Regions from separate parts of the Homo sapiens genome. Here regions 2 and 3 are each linked to region 1. Evidence: promoter capture Hi-C in human tissues and cell types (Jung and others, 2019). All regions are on one chromosome and are shown on one strand. Each heading gives the region's core, a stretch centred on a gene start or on the middle of the fragment in contact. The rest is flanking DNA. Distances are from core to core; before and after follow the strand shown.

Region 1 (3,719 bases), core at 629-3,128:
CAGCCTGAGTTCTATTCCCTGCGGTATTTCTAACCCTCAATTCATATTATAAGAGGAGCTACTTAATCTTCTCTCTGTATCTATAAGGTACTTTTTCTTTTTCTTTTTTTTTTTCTTTTTTTGAGACGGAGTCACACTGTTGCCCGCGCTGGACTGCAATGGTGCGATCTTGGCTCACTGCAACCTCCGCCTCCCGGGTTCAAGCAATTCTCCTGCCTCAACCTCCGGAGTAGCTGGGATTACAGGCGCCCGCCACCACGCCCAGCTAATTTTTTTGTATTTTTAGTAGAGAGGGGGGGTTTCACTATGTTGACCAGGCTGGTCTCGAACTCCTGACCTCGTGATCCGCCCGCCTCAGCCTCCCAAAGTGCTGGGATTACAGGCGTTTAAGCCACGGCGCCCGGCCTATAAGTTATTTTCTATGGGAAATAACTTGTCAAACTTCCACCAAAAAGGAATGGAAAGAGGGCAGCATAGTGGCCAGGCAGTTTATTTCCATACTAGGAGATACAGAAGGGATTAATTCTAACCGTAGGAATTCTAACCATCAAATGTCACTCACTGGCCTACCTAAACTGAACTCTGGTCCCAGCCAGAACAAGTCAGGAAGAGGGGATGTCTAAGACCGAAAGGGGGGCTTTCTAGTTAAGCTCTTCAGGCAGGAGAGGAAAAGGATGCCCGCATCCCCAAAGACACCTTTAGCTACCACAAGCCCCAAACCCCGTACTTTGTAACTGTGTCTAGTTTACGTCCTTTAAAAATTATTCTTATTAAGTTAAATTGTTTTCGGGGCGGGGAAGATACAAAAGAAACCAGTTAAAGTCTGAAAGGATAGAGAGGGGAAAGTTTCTCACCTCATTCTTCCAGCCACCCAGTTCCTCTCCTAAAAGGCAATCTTTACCAGTTCCTTCTCTAACGCCCCTCCTTTTTAATTTGATTTTTTACCGAAAGCTCGCTCCCTTTTAATTTTCCCTCAGGTTTCTGAAAATTTCCCAATCGCAGCCCCTCCCAGCAGGGAAATAGTAAAGGGGCTTGGTTTTTATGTTCAACCCAAAGCAAGCCTACAAAAGGGAGTAGTCGGTTTCGAGCCTGACGGTGGAGCTGACGCGGGAATGAGAGAGAACCTGAGAAGACCGCCAGGGCGCCCTCCCTGCGGAGGCGAGTCCCTCACCGCCCCTCTACATCGTCCTTTTCAATAAGGAGCTCTTAATACCTGCAACTGCTTCCTTCAAGGGGTGGCTGGAAGATCAGTAGGCAAGGCCTGCGGACTGCGCACCTTAAAGCGCTTCGGGACCGTAAGACAGTGAGTGCTGAGCGCGCGGCCGGGAAGAAGCCTGGAGGCTCTGAGCTCGGAGGACAGAGACCGAAGCCCCAGGGCCTGCGTCCCTCACAACCTGCGCCTCCTGTCCTCCCGCGCTACTCCCGAAGCGCACCTTCTCGCCCGCAGGCCGCAGAAGTGATGACGCAAAGCCCTCGGGGCCTCCGCCACCTCCTCACGCTTCTGCTGGACCGAATCCTTGGAATGGACAGGTAGCGGTTCCCGATTGCTATAGCGACGACCCGGCTCCGAGCCGCGCCCAGGCCCTGACCCGGGCGTCGTGACGTCAGCACGCCTTCCCTGGGCGCTCAGCCTCGCTGGCCATGCGTCACCCCGGCCTTGGTGGGGGCGGGGCTCCGAAGAGCTCGGTTCAGATCCCGGCCGCCTGGGCTCCAGGAGCCCCGGAACCAGGATAAGTTGGATGGCTGCCGCGGCGAAGCGGGGGGCGGGGTGGACCGTGCCCGGTATTTTCTATACGGGTTCCGGGGCCCGGTAGAGGCGCGCCAAGAGGAAAGGAAAGTGCGGCGGCCCTGGAACCTGGATATCGCGCGAGGCAAGCTGCGCGCGGGCGGGCGGGCTATGGCGCAGGCGGGTTGTGGGGCCGGCGCTGGTGGCGGGGCCCGGTGCATGGCGGTCTGTCGGCGGAGTCGCCCTCGGGGGCTGTCAGGTTGGTGGCTGCGGGAGGAGTGGGCCAACCATGCCCAGGGCGGGAGGCCGGGCGGGCGCAGGACCCCGGGAAGGTCCCGAGCCCGGCGTGCCCACCTCCCTCCGGCCCTAGCAGGGCGGCCTGGCCGCTGGACCGCGGCCGGGCCCCCTCCCCCACCCAGGGTCCCTGCCCCTCTTTTCCGCCTTGCGGCTCCTCCCCCGTGACTCCCAAACCTCACCCCGTGACGGCGCCCGCCTCCACCCTTGTGACCCCACACCCCACCCACTGACCCCAAGACCTCACCAGGTAACCGTTGGTTATTATTCATTGGCTGCTAACCCAGGAATTTCCCCAGCACTTCTCAGAGACCCACCAACCAGTGACTCCCTCAGTTTTAATCCGGTGACTCACATGACCCTGAGATCCCCACACTCCTCCTTAGTGACCCCCAAACCTGGGTAACCCTCCTGGCCCAGTAACCCCCCCGATTCTACCTTGTGTTCCCCACAAACTCGGTGACTCCCCTCAAAACTCTGCTGGCGACTCCTAAGCCCTACTCCAATAGTTTTCCACGCACTCACCTTGTACACAACCCTCAGTATCTTTATCCTGTAGCCGTATGACCCTCGTTCCACGTCTGCCTTTATCCTAAAATCACCCCCACTGGCATCTCTCTCTGCGATCCCAGCCCTTCAGTGTCAATCAGCACATGACTTACAAGCGTCCAGCACCTTTCTGGTGCTAAGGAGGATATAGAGATTAATATGAAGTAGTAATAATTGGAGGCATCAGAGAATTCTGGATCAATCCAGAATCCAGTCAATCCAGTGTGTGGTCCCAGCTCTGTCACTGCTGTGCTTTAGGGACCTGTGAGAAGTCCCCTCCTCAGTCTGGACCTCAGTTTCTCATCATGACTGTGATGAGGTTGGGTTAGATGATCTTTGAGTTTCCTTCCGTCTGTGAAATTGTGAAATTATGCAGTTCTCAGTCAAGATAATAATTTTTTGCAATCATTTTTGTACCCCACCCTGGAAATTTCCTCTTGTAACCTCATCCCAGGATCTGCTTGCATCATGAACCTTACTCCCTCATTCCCGGATCACCCTCTTCACTCTTCATAGTGCATACCCATTTCCCTTGATCAGGCCCCATCAGTTAACATGTTTGCAAAGCAGTATAGCAGAGTGCTTCATTTGGGGGCATTGAGTTCATAACAAACCTAGGTTCCAGACTGATTCTGGCCCTTCAGCTATGGGACTTTTGGTATATTATTTAGCCTGTCTTAACTTCAGTCTCCACCTCTGCGAAGGGAGAAAATAGTAGTGCCTGACATAACATATGTAAAGCACCGGGCACCATGCCTGGCTCATGGGAACCCTTAGCATAAGCTGTTGTTAGAAATGAGAAGCTGCTATGGATCTTACTCTGTCCTGAGTGCTAGGGATTTAACAGACTGAACATGTGGCCCATACCTTGCATTATGTTGCTACTACTGACATCTTGGAATCCCTATCTTCTCATCTCTGCTGTAGCCTCACTTCTCTGGTTCTTACCCTGATTTTGCCTCAATAACGATTGGCTTGCTGAATACCTACTGTGTGCCAAGCTCTGGATATATAAGTTAAATTTACGTCTCAACAGCCCCAAGAGTTAATTATTATTATATCCACCATTTTCCCTTCCCATATTTTTGTTTGGTTGGTTGGTTGGTTTCAGAGAAATGAACCAGAAACTCTCACAGCTAAGTAGCAGAGC
Region 2 (3,719 bases), core at 759-3,258, 1.2 Mb after region 1:
ACACCTGGCTAATTTTTTGTATTTTTAGTAGAGACAGGGTTTCACCACATTGGCCAGGCTGGTCACAAACTCCTGACCTCAAGTGATCCACCCACCTCAGCCTCCCAAAGTACTGGGATTACAGGAGTGAGCCACCGCAACCGGCCTTGTTTGTCTTAACATTCGTTTTGAGATTTATTCATGTAGCTCTAGTTCACTCATTTCTCTGCCGTATGCTATACTGTTATATAAATTAGTCACAATAGTTTTTATCCGTTCTTCTGTAATGGACAGTTACAGTGCTTCCAGTATTTCACTATGACAAATAACACCTGAATAAACATTCTTTTAATACCTTCTTGGGCACTGTGCAAGCATTCCTCTAGAGTATTAACTAGAATATTGCTGAGCCTTGGGTTATAAGCATTTAAACTTGAGGTATCTTCCATGTCCTCCAAAGTAGTTAGTCCCTATTTAAACCAACCCCGGTGGGGATTAGCTTCTGGTACTCCATATCTCATCAAGACTTGGCTTTGTCAGATTTTTTTTTATTTTTACCAATCTGATGAATATGAAATGGGATCTCTTTTTTTTTCTTTTTAAGAGATGGGGTCTTGCTCTGTCACCCGGGCTGGAGTGCAGTGGTATGATCATAGCTCACTGCAGCCTTGAAATCCTGGCCTCAAGGGATTCTCCTGCCTCAGCCTCCTGAGTAGCTGGGACTGTAGGGATGTGCCAGCATGGCTGGGATCTTGTTTTAATTTGCATTTACTTTATTTCAAGTAGGGTTGAGCACATATTCATATTTTAATTAGCCATCCAGGTTTTTATTATGAATTCCTATTCAGATCCTTTGTCCATTAGTATTTTTTAAGTTGTGTTGTCCTTTTTCTTATTGATTCATAGGAATTCTTTATGAATTCAGGACATTAATCTGTTTAAGATATTTGTATACTGCAAGTATCTTCTCCCAGATTGACGCTTGTTATTTTTATTGTGATTTTTTTAATGAAGTAGTATTTGTTACCAAAAGTAAATATGTCACATACATACATCTGTTAATTACATACATTATCAAATTATAATGCATAATCATGAAAATGAATAGCCACGAGTTCAACTGAAGAACCAAGGAATACCAATATTATTAAAGCTAAACATGTACTCCTCCTCGTCTCTCCTGCTTCTCTTAACCACTATGCTGAATTTCGTGTTTTGTCACTCCTCTGCTTTTAAAAAGAATTTTGCCATCTATCTCTCTAAATGAGATCTTAGTTTTATTTTTGAGCTTTATTAAAATGGTACCATTCTATATACAGTCTTCTGCTATTAGATTCTTCCTCTCAACTTTGTTTCTAAAATTGATTCACACTGTCACAAGTAGCTGTTCGTTCAATTATTTTTACTGCTGCAAAATATTCTATTCCAGAATGTAACTGTTTTCCTGTGGATGGACACTGGATTATTCCCAGTCTTTTGCTATTATGAAAATGCAATAAACATTCTTCTGAATGTCTCCTGGTTCACATGTGCAGTTTCTCCAGGGCCTATGACTAGGGGTAGAATTGCAGCGCTGTAGGGTGTACACATGAATTCTGAAAGATAATTCCAAAGTAGCTGTACTGTGTGGCTTGTCTTTTCATTTCTTTACGTCTTTTGATATATAGAAGGTTTTTTTTCCTTAAAGTAATAAAATAAACCAACTTTTTCCTTTATGAGCTGTAGTTCTTGTTTAAGAAATCCCTCTTTACTCTGAGGTCATAAAGATATTGCCCTGTATTTTCTTTAAAAATTTTTAAAGTTTAATTTCCCATCTAGAATTGACTTTTGCATATACTGTAAGGTAGGGATCCATTTTTTCCATATAGCTAAGTGTGTGTGTGTGTGTGTGTTTGTGTGTGTATGATATATATTTAAATGCAGATATTAACACAAATGCCAGTGTTGTCTTTTGTCTTTAAGCTTTAAAAACTGACATGTGGATTAGGCCCTCTCCAAGAATTTTCATTCTAATCATAAAGGTAAGAAATTACAAACTCTTTAATTTAGAGATGAGGTTTACTCTACCAAAGATGAATGTAAATCTAAGCAGATCTTACTTGTTCAAAGATTTCCATTATAAAACCAGAGGTCTACTGCCAGAGGAAAAGAACTCCTTCAAGATACCAGTGCATTAAAAAAAACTCTTAACGAGTTATAAAATATAGCAAACAACAGGCTCAAACCTGTGAAGGTAAAAGTATTGCTCTTATTCCAGAAACTAGAGTCTGCCACTGGAGCTCGCTCGCATTTTACCACACTTTTTACCACACCATCTGTACCAGGTGTGCCCTTTCCAATCTAAGGACTGCCCCCTTCCCAAACCTTTGTTGTTTTCCACACCAGGGTGTCCTCCAACTCCAACCTCGTAAATCTGTACTCCAGTTTCTCCTTTTTTCTGTCTGGGTATTTCAAGTGTCAATGAAAATTGCTATCTGGAATAGCTCTGTTGGTTGTTAACAGTCATTTCAACTGAATGTGTTCTAACCTTATGATTTTGTGTCAGGGTTTTAGAAGAAATAAAGCAATTTAATTTCCTACTCACTTCTGTAAATTCAACCCTAAAAAATTAAACTGACCAAGATTGGATGCCTATGTGTCTATTACCTTTTATATCTGTAATTAACTTAAAGCTGACTCATATTAATCAGTTACTGGGGCCTAAGGTTATACAGGACGACATAACAATTTAAAACATTACAATATGATTTAAGCAGCCGAGGAATGAAGCTAAAGCCTCTACTTTTTTTAGTGATTCCCAATGGACTAAAAAGTAATAGGCTGAGTAGCAATTACATATGTTAGGCTTAACCTAGAGCAGTAAATTTATATTAACCATTAACGAATATCAATCTTCAGCTTGGTACTAGCTGAATGGGATCACTAACAAAAGGTCAAAGTAACACAGTTAATTAACATTTGGAAGACTGAGAGGTGGCTTCATTTTCTTCAAGTTATGAAAAGAGATAATATGAAGATGACCTTAATTTACACTTTCCCATTTCTACTGTATATAGTATAAAAAGGCAAGAACCTTAACCATAGCATCAGGGCCTTAAGTTTATTCAGATTTTCAAAAATGTTTTTAACTATTAAATGACATTTAACTGCAAATACGAAAATTGTGAAATTGCTTTCCTTATAGAACTATAGAAATGGTTCCTCTAATCATGACATGACCCTTGGGTACACATCAAAGAGCACAAAGCTTGTCTTGGAATATAAGGAACAATTCAAAACACTTAAGCTTTATCCCCAAAATACTTGTCAGCACAGTAGCCAAAGGTTAAATCCTGGCCTCCAAAAAAAAAAAAAAAAAAAAAAAAGAAAGAAAGAAAAGAAAGGAAAGAAAGAAAGAAAAGAAATCACAGATTCCTTACCTTCTGTTTCCAAAAAATAGATAAATATTAGTTTCCCAACAACGCAGGAGCTATTATTTAAGACATAACCTCTTCAGTGGAGGTTCTCCACATTCACTGCACAGTAGAATCACTCAGTCTTTTAAAAACCAGATACCCAGACTATATCCCAGACCAACTGAATCATAATTTCTGTGGGTGGAACCTGGACATCAACATGTTCTGAAGTTCCCCAAGTGATTTTGTTGTGCAACCAAGGTTAAAAACTACTCCTCTGTGGAGAGACATAATAGAAGCATCTGACCAAATTTGTTCCTGACACTCCCTAATCCTCAACAAGAT
Region 3 (3,719 bases), core at 732-3,231, 1.2 Mb after region 1:
AGACACAGAGCACTGATTGGTGCGTTTTTACAGAGTGCTGATTGGTGCATTTACAAACCTTTAGCTAGACACAGAGCGCTGATTGATAGACACAGAGCGCTGATTCATGCGTTTTTACATAGTGCTGATTGGTGCGTTTACAATCCTTTAGCTAGACACAGAGTGCTGATTGGTGTGTTTTTACAGAGTGCTGATTGGTGCATTTATAATCCTTTAGCTAGACACAGAGCACTGATTGGTGCGTTTACAATCCTTTAGCTAGGCAGAAAAGTTCTCCAATTGCGTTTACAATCCTTTAGGCAGAAAAGTTCTCCAAGTCCCCACTCGACCCAGGAAGTCCAGCTGGCTTCACCTCTCATCTTCACATTGTCATCCCTCTGTTTATGTGTTCTACTCGCCCCATTTTGAGGACTCCAGACATATTGGATTAGGGCCCACCTTAATGACTTCGTTTAAAAGGCACTGTCTCCAAATACAGGCACATTCTGAGGACTAGGGGTTAGGGCTTCACATATGAATTTTGAGGGAGACACAGTTCAGCCCCGACAATCTGTTTAAGAAGTTATGTGTTGGTGGCCGGGCGCGGTGGCTCACGCCTGTAATCCCAGCACTTTGGGAGGCTGAGGCGGGCGGATCACAAGGTCAGGAGATCGAGACCATCATGGCTAACATGGTGAAACTCCGTCTGTACTAAAAATATAAAAAATTAGCTGGGCGTGGTTGCAGGCGCCTGTAGTCCCAGCTACTTGGGAGGCTGAGGCAGGAGAATGGCGTGAACCCAGGAGGCGGAGCTTGCAGTGAGCCGAGATTGCGCCACTGCACTCCAGCCTGGGCAACAGAGTGAGACTCCGTCCTAAAAAAAAAAAAAAAAAAAAAAAAAAAGAAGTTATGTATTGGGGCCGGGTGCAATGGCTCCTGCGTGTAATCCCAACACTTTGGGAGGTGGAGGCAGGTGGATCATCTGAGGTCAGGAGTTTGAGACCAGCGTGGCCAACATGACGAAACCCTGTCTCTACTAAAAATACAAAAATTAGCTGGGCACGATGGCACGTGCTTGTAATCCCAACTACTCGGGAGGCTGAGGTAGGAGAATCGCTTGAACCTGGGAGGCAGAGGTTGCAGTGAGCTGAGATTGTGCCACTGCACTCCAGCCTGGGTGACAGAGTGAGACTCTGTCTCAAAAAAAAAAAAAAGAAAGGTTATGTGTTGGGTAATCTGAATGCTCGTTTCCTTCATCACTATGTCCTACGCCATGAGGCCCAGGCAGCATTCTTTTTCACGTGACTGGCTTTACCTGTTCTTCAGAACCATGCTTACTTTTGTATACCCTGAGAAGCATATTATGCCTCTGTATAAATCATTGTGTTATGTTATATTTAAGATTATCCTGTTAGCCTACTGAATAATGTGCTTGAAAAACTATTCCATACATTAACTTAAATTCCTAATTCATCTATTAAGCTCATTTCTTCTTTAATCTAGATGGAAGAATGTCAAACTATTTTATGTGATAATATATTGTTTTCTGATTAAACTTTAAAAATTTTCTCTTAAACTGTTTCAAGCAGTTTTAAAAATTTATTTTATCTTATTTTACTTTTTAAGAGTTAGAAGTCTTGCTGTGTTGCCCAGGCTGAAGCATAGTAGCTATTCACAGTCTTGATCCCACTACTGATCAGCACAGGAGTTTTGACTTGCCTGTTTCCAGCCTGGGTCAGTTCTCCCCTCCTTAGGCATCCTGGTGGATCCCTGCTCCTGGGAGGTCACCATTGATGCTAAATTTGGTGCAGACACCTGATTGACATAGCGCACTACAGCCCAGAACTTCTGGGCTCAAGTGATCCTCCCACCTCAGCCTCCTAAGTAGCTGGGGCTACAATAGTGTGCCATGGAACCTAGTTACAAGCAGTTTTTAAGAAACCATTCCAATGATTCCAATGTTTTCTTGAGAAGGTATCTGTTTTTAGAGATACATTTTCATTTTTCCTTATTTTAAAGATAATAACACATTCATTTTAGAGACTTTAGAATATTCAGTAAGACAATAACTTTTTAAAAGAAAAGTCACGTGATTCTACAGTTAAGGGAGAATAATCTTTTCCATCTTTTTTCTGTGGATACATTTATTGTTTCAACTTGCCTTTTAAAAATCTAATATATCAATACTATTTCACACTATTTCAGTTATTTTCTTTTCTGAAATAAGGTCTTGCTCTGTCACCCAGGATGAGGTGTAGTGGCAAGATTTCAGCTCACTGCAGCTTTGACCTCCGGGCTTAAGCAGTCCTCCCACGTCAGCCTTGCCCAAGTAGTTGGGACTACAGGTATGTGCCACCACACCCAGCTAATTTTTTTATTTTTTGTAGAAACGAGGTCTCACTGTGTTGTCCAGTTTTGTCTTGAACTCCTGGGCTCAAGCGATCCTCCTGCCTTGGCCTCCCAAAGTGTTAGGATTACAGGCATAAACTGCTGCACCTGGCCCTATTTTAGTTATTTTCAAACAGATTTCTATTTATTTATTTAGAGACAGAGTCTCACTCTGTCACCCAGGCAGTGCAGTAGTGCAGTCTCAGCTCACTGCAACCTCCTCCTCCCCGGTTCAAGTGCTTTTCATGCCTCAGCCTCCTGAGTAGCTGGAATTACAGGTACACACCACCATGCCCAGCTAATTTTTGTATTTTTAGTAGAGACAGGGTTTCGCCATGTTGACCGGGCTGGTCTCAAACTCCTGACTTCAAGTGATCTGCCCACCTTGGCCTCCCAAAGTGCTGGGATTACAGGTGTGAGTCAATGTGCCTGGCCTATTTTTTTAATTGGTGAATCATATGAATTGATTTTTGAATGTTAAACCAATCTTTGCCATAATGTATTATCCTTTTTTATGTGGCTGAATTTGATTTTCTCATAATTTGTTTAGGATTTTTGTGATTATGTTCATGAGAAAGTTTGATATAATTTCTTCGTTAAAAGTGTGGGAAAATTTGCTAGTCAAGCCATTGGATTCTGGAAAAGTTTTAATTATCAATTAAATTTCTTTACTAGATATAGGACTTTGCAGATTTTCTAATTTTTCTAAGTCAGTTTCAATAAATTATAGAATATTCATTTAATCTGCAAATTCTAATTTACTGGCATAAATTGTACAAAATAACTGCTCATCTTTTTAGTCTCATGGGATGTGTACTGATAGTCTTTTTTCATCTGTGATCATTGTAGTGTGCATCTTCATTTTCTTTTTTTTTTTTTTTTTTTTAGATGAAGTCTCACTCTGTTGCCCAAGCTGCAGTGCAATGTCGCTATCTTGGCTTACTGCAACCTCCGCTTCCCGAAGCGATTCTACTGCCCCAGCCTCCTGAGTAGCTGGGACTACAGGTGTACACCATGACACCTGGCTAATTTTTGTATTTTTAGTAGAGATGGGGTTTCACTATGTTGGCCAGGCTGGTCTTGAACTCCTGACCTCGTGATCCGCCCGCGTCAGTCTCCCGAAGTGCTGGGATTACAGGCGTGAGCCACCGCGCCCAGCCTTATTTTCTTTTTAAAACAACTTCACTGAGAGAGAATTCACATAACATACAATTCACTCATATAAAGTATAGAGTTGAGTGGTTTAGTATATTCAAAGTTGTGCAGACATTACCACCATTATTTCTTTCTTGATCAGTTTTTAGGGCTTATCAGTTTTCTTAGCTTTTTTTTTTTTTTTTTTTTTTTTTGGA

What was found. Contacts are between HindIII fragments. The study calls those that stand out against the background at their distance.
Region 2: a contact is called between a fragment that was not itself captured here and the fragment with the promoter of ZNF76 in region 1, in 1 of the 25 tissues and cell types used here (heart right ventricle).
Region 3: a contact is called between a fragment that was not itself captured here and the fragment with the promoter of ZNF76 in region 1, in 1 of the 25 tissues and cell types used here (adrenal gland).

What each region holds. Positions count from the first base shown.
Region 1 is chr6:35,257,857-35,261,575 of GRCh38, forward strand. It overlaps ZNF76 (zinc finger protein 76), which reads left to right and starts at 1,879. Exons shown (of 14, transcript NM_003427.5): 1 at 1,879-1,985. SCUBE3-AS1 (SCUBE3 antisense RNA 1) reads right to left here and starts at 1,599. Exons shown (of 4, transcript XR_001744102.2): 1 at 1,434-1,599. RefSeq lists silencers at 1,862-1,981, 1,992-2,311. The HindIII fragment of the contact is 24,264 bases long and covers 1-3,719 here.
Region 2 is chr6:36,501,579-36,505,297 of GRCh38, forward strand. The region is part of intron 9 of STK38 (serine/threonine kinase 38); the gene reads right to left. Among named protein-coding and RNA genes, the nearest start is that of STK38, 44 kb to the right of the region's middle. The HindIII fragment of the contact is 3,482 bases long and covers 268-3,719 here.
Region 3 is chr6:36,449,309-36,453,027 of GRCh38, forward strand. All of the region lies in intron 1 of KCTD20 (potassium channel tetramerization domain containing 20), which reads left to right. It also overlaps the pseudogene RN7SL502P. Among named protein-coding and RNA genes, the nearest start is that of KCTD20, 8.2 kb to the left of the region's middle. The HindIII fragment of the contact is 8,557 bases long and covers 1-3,719 here.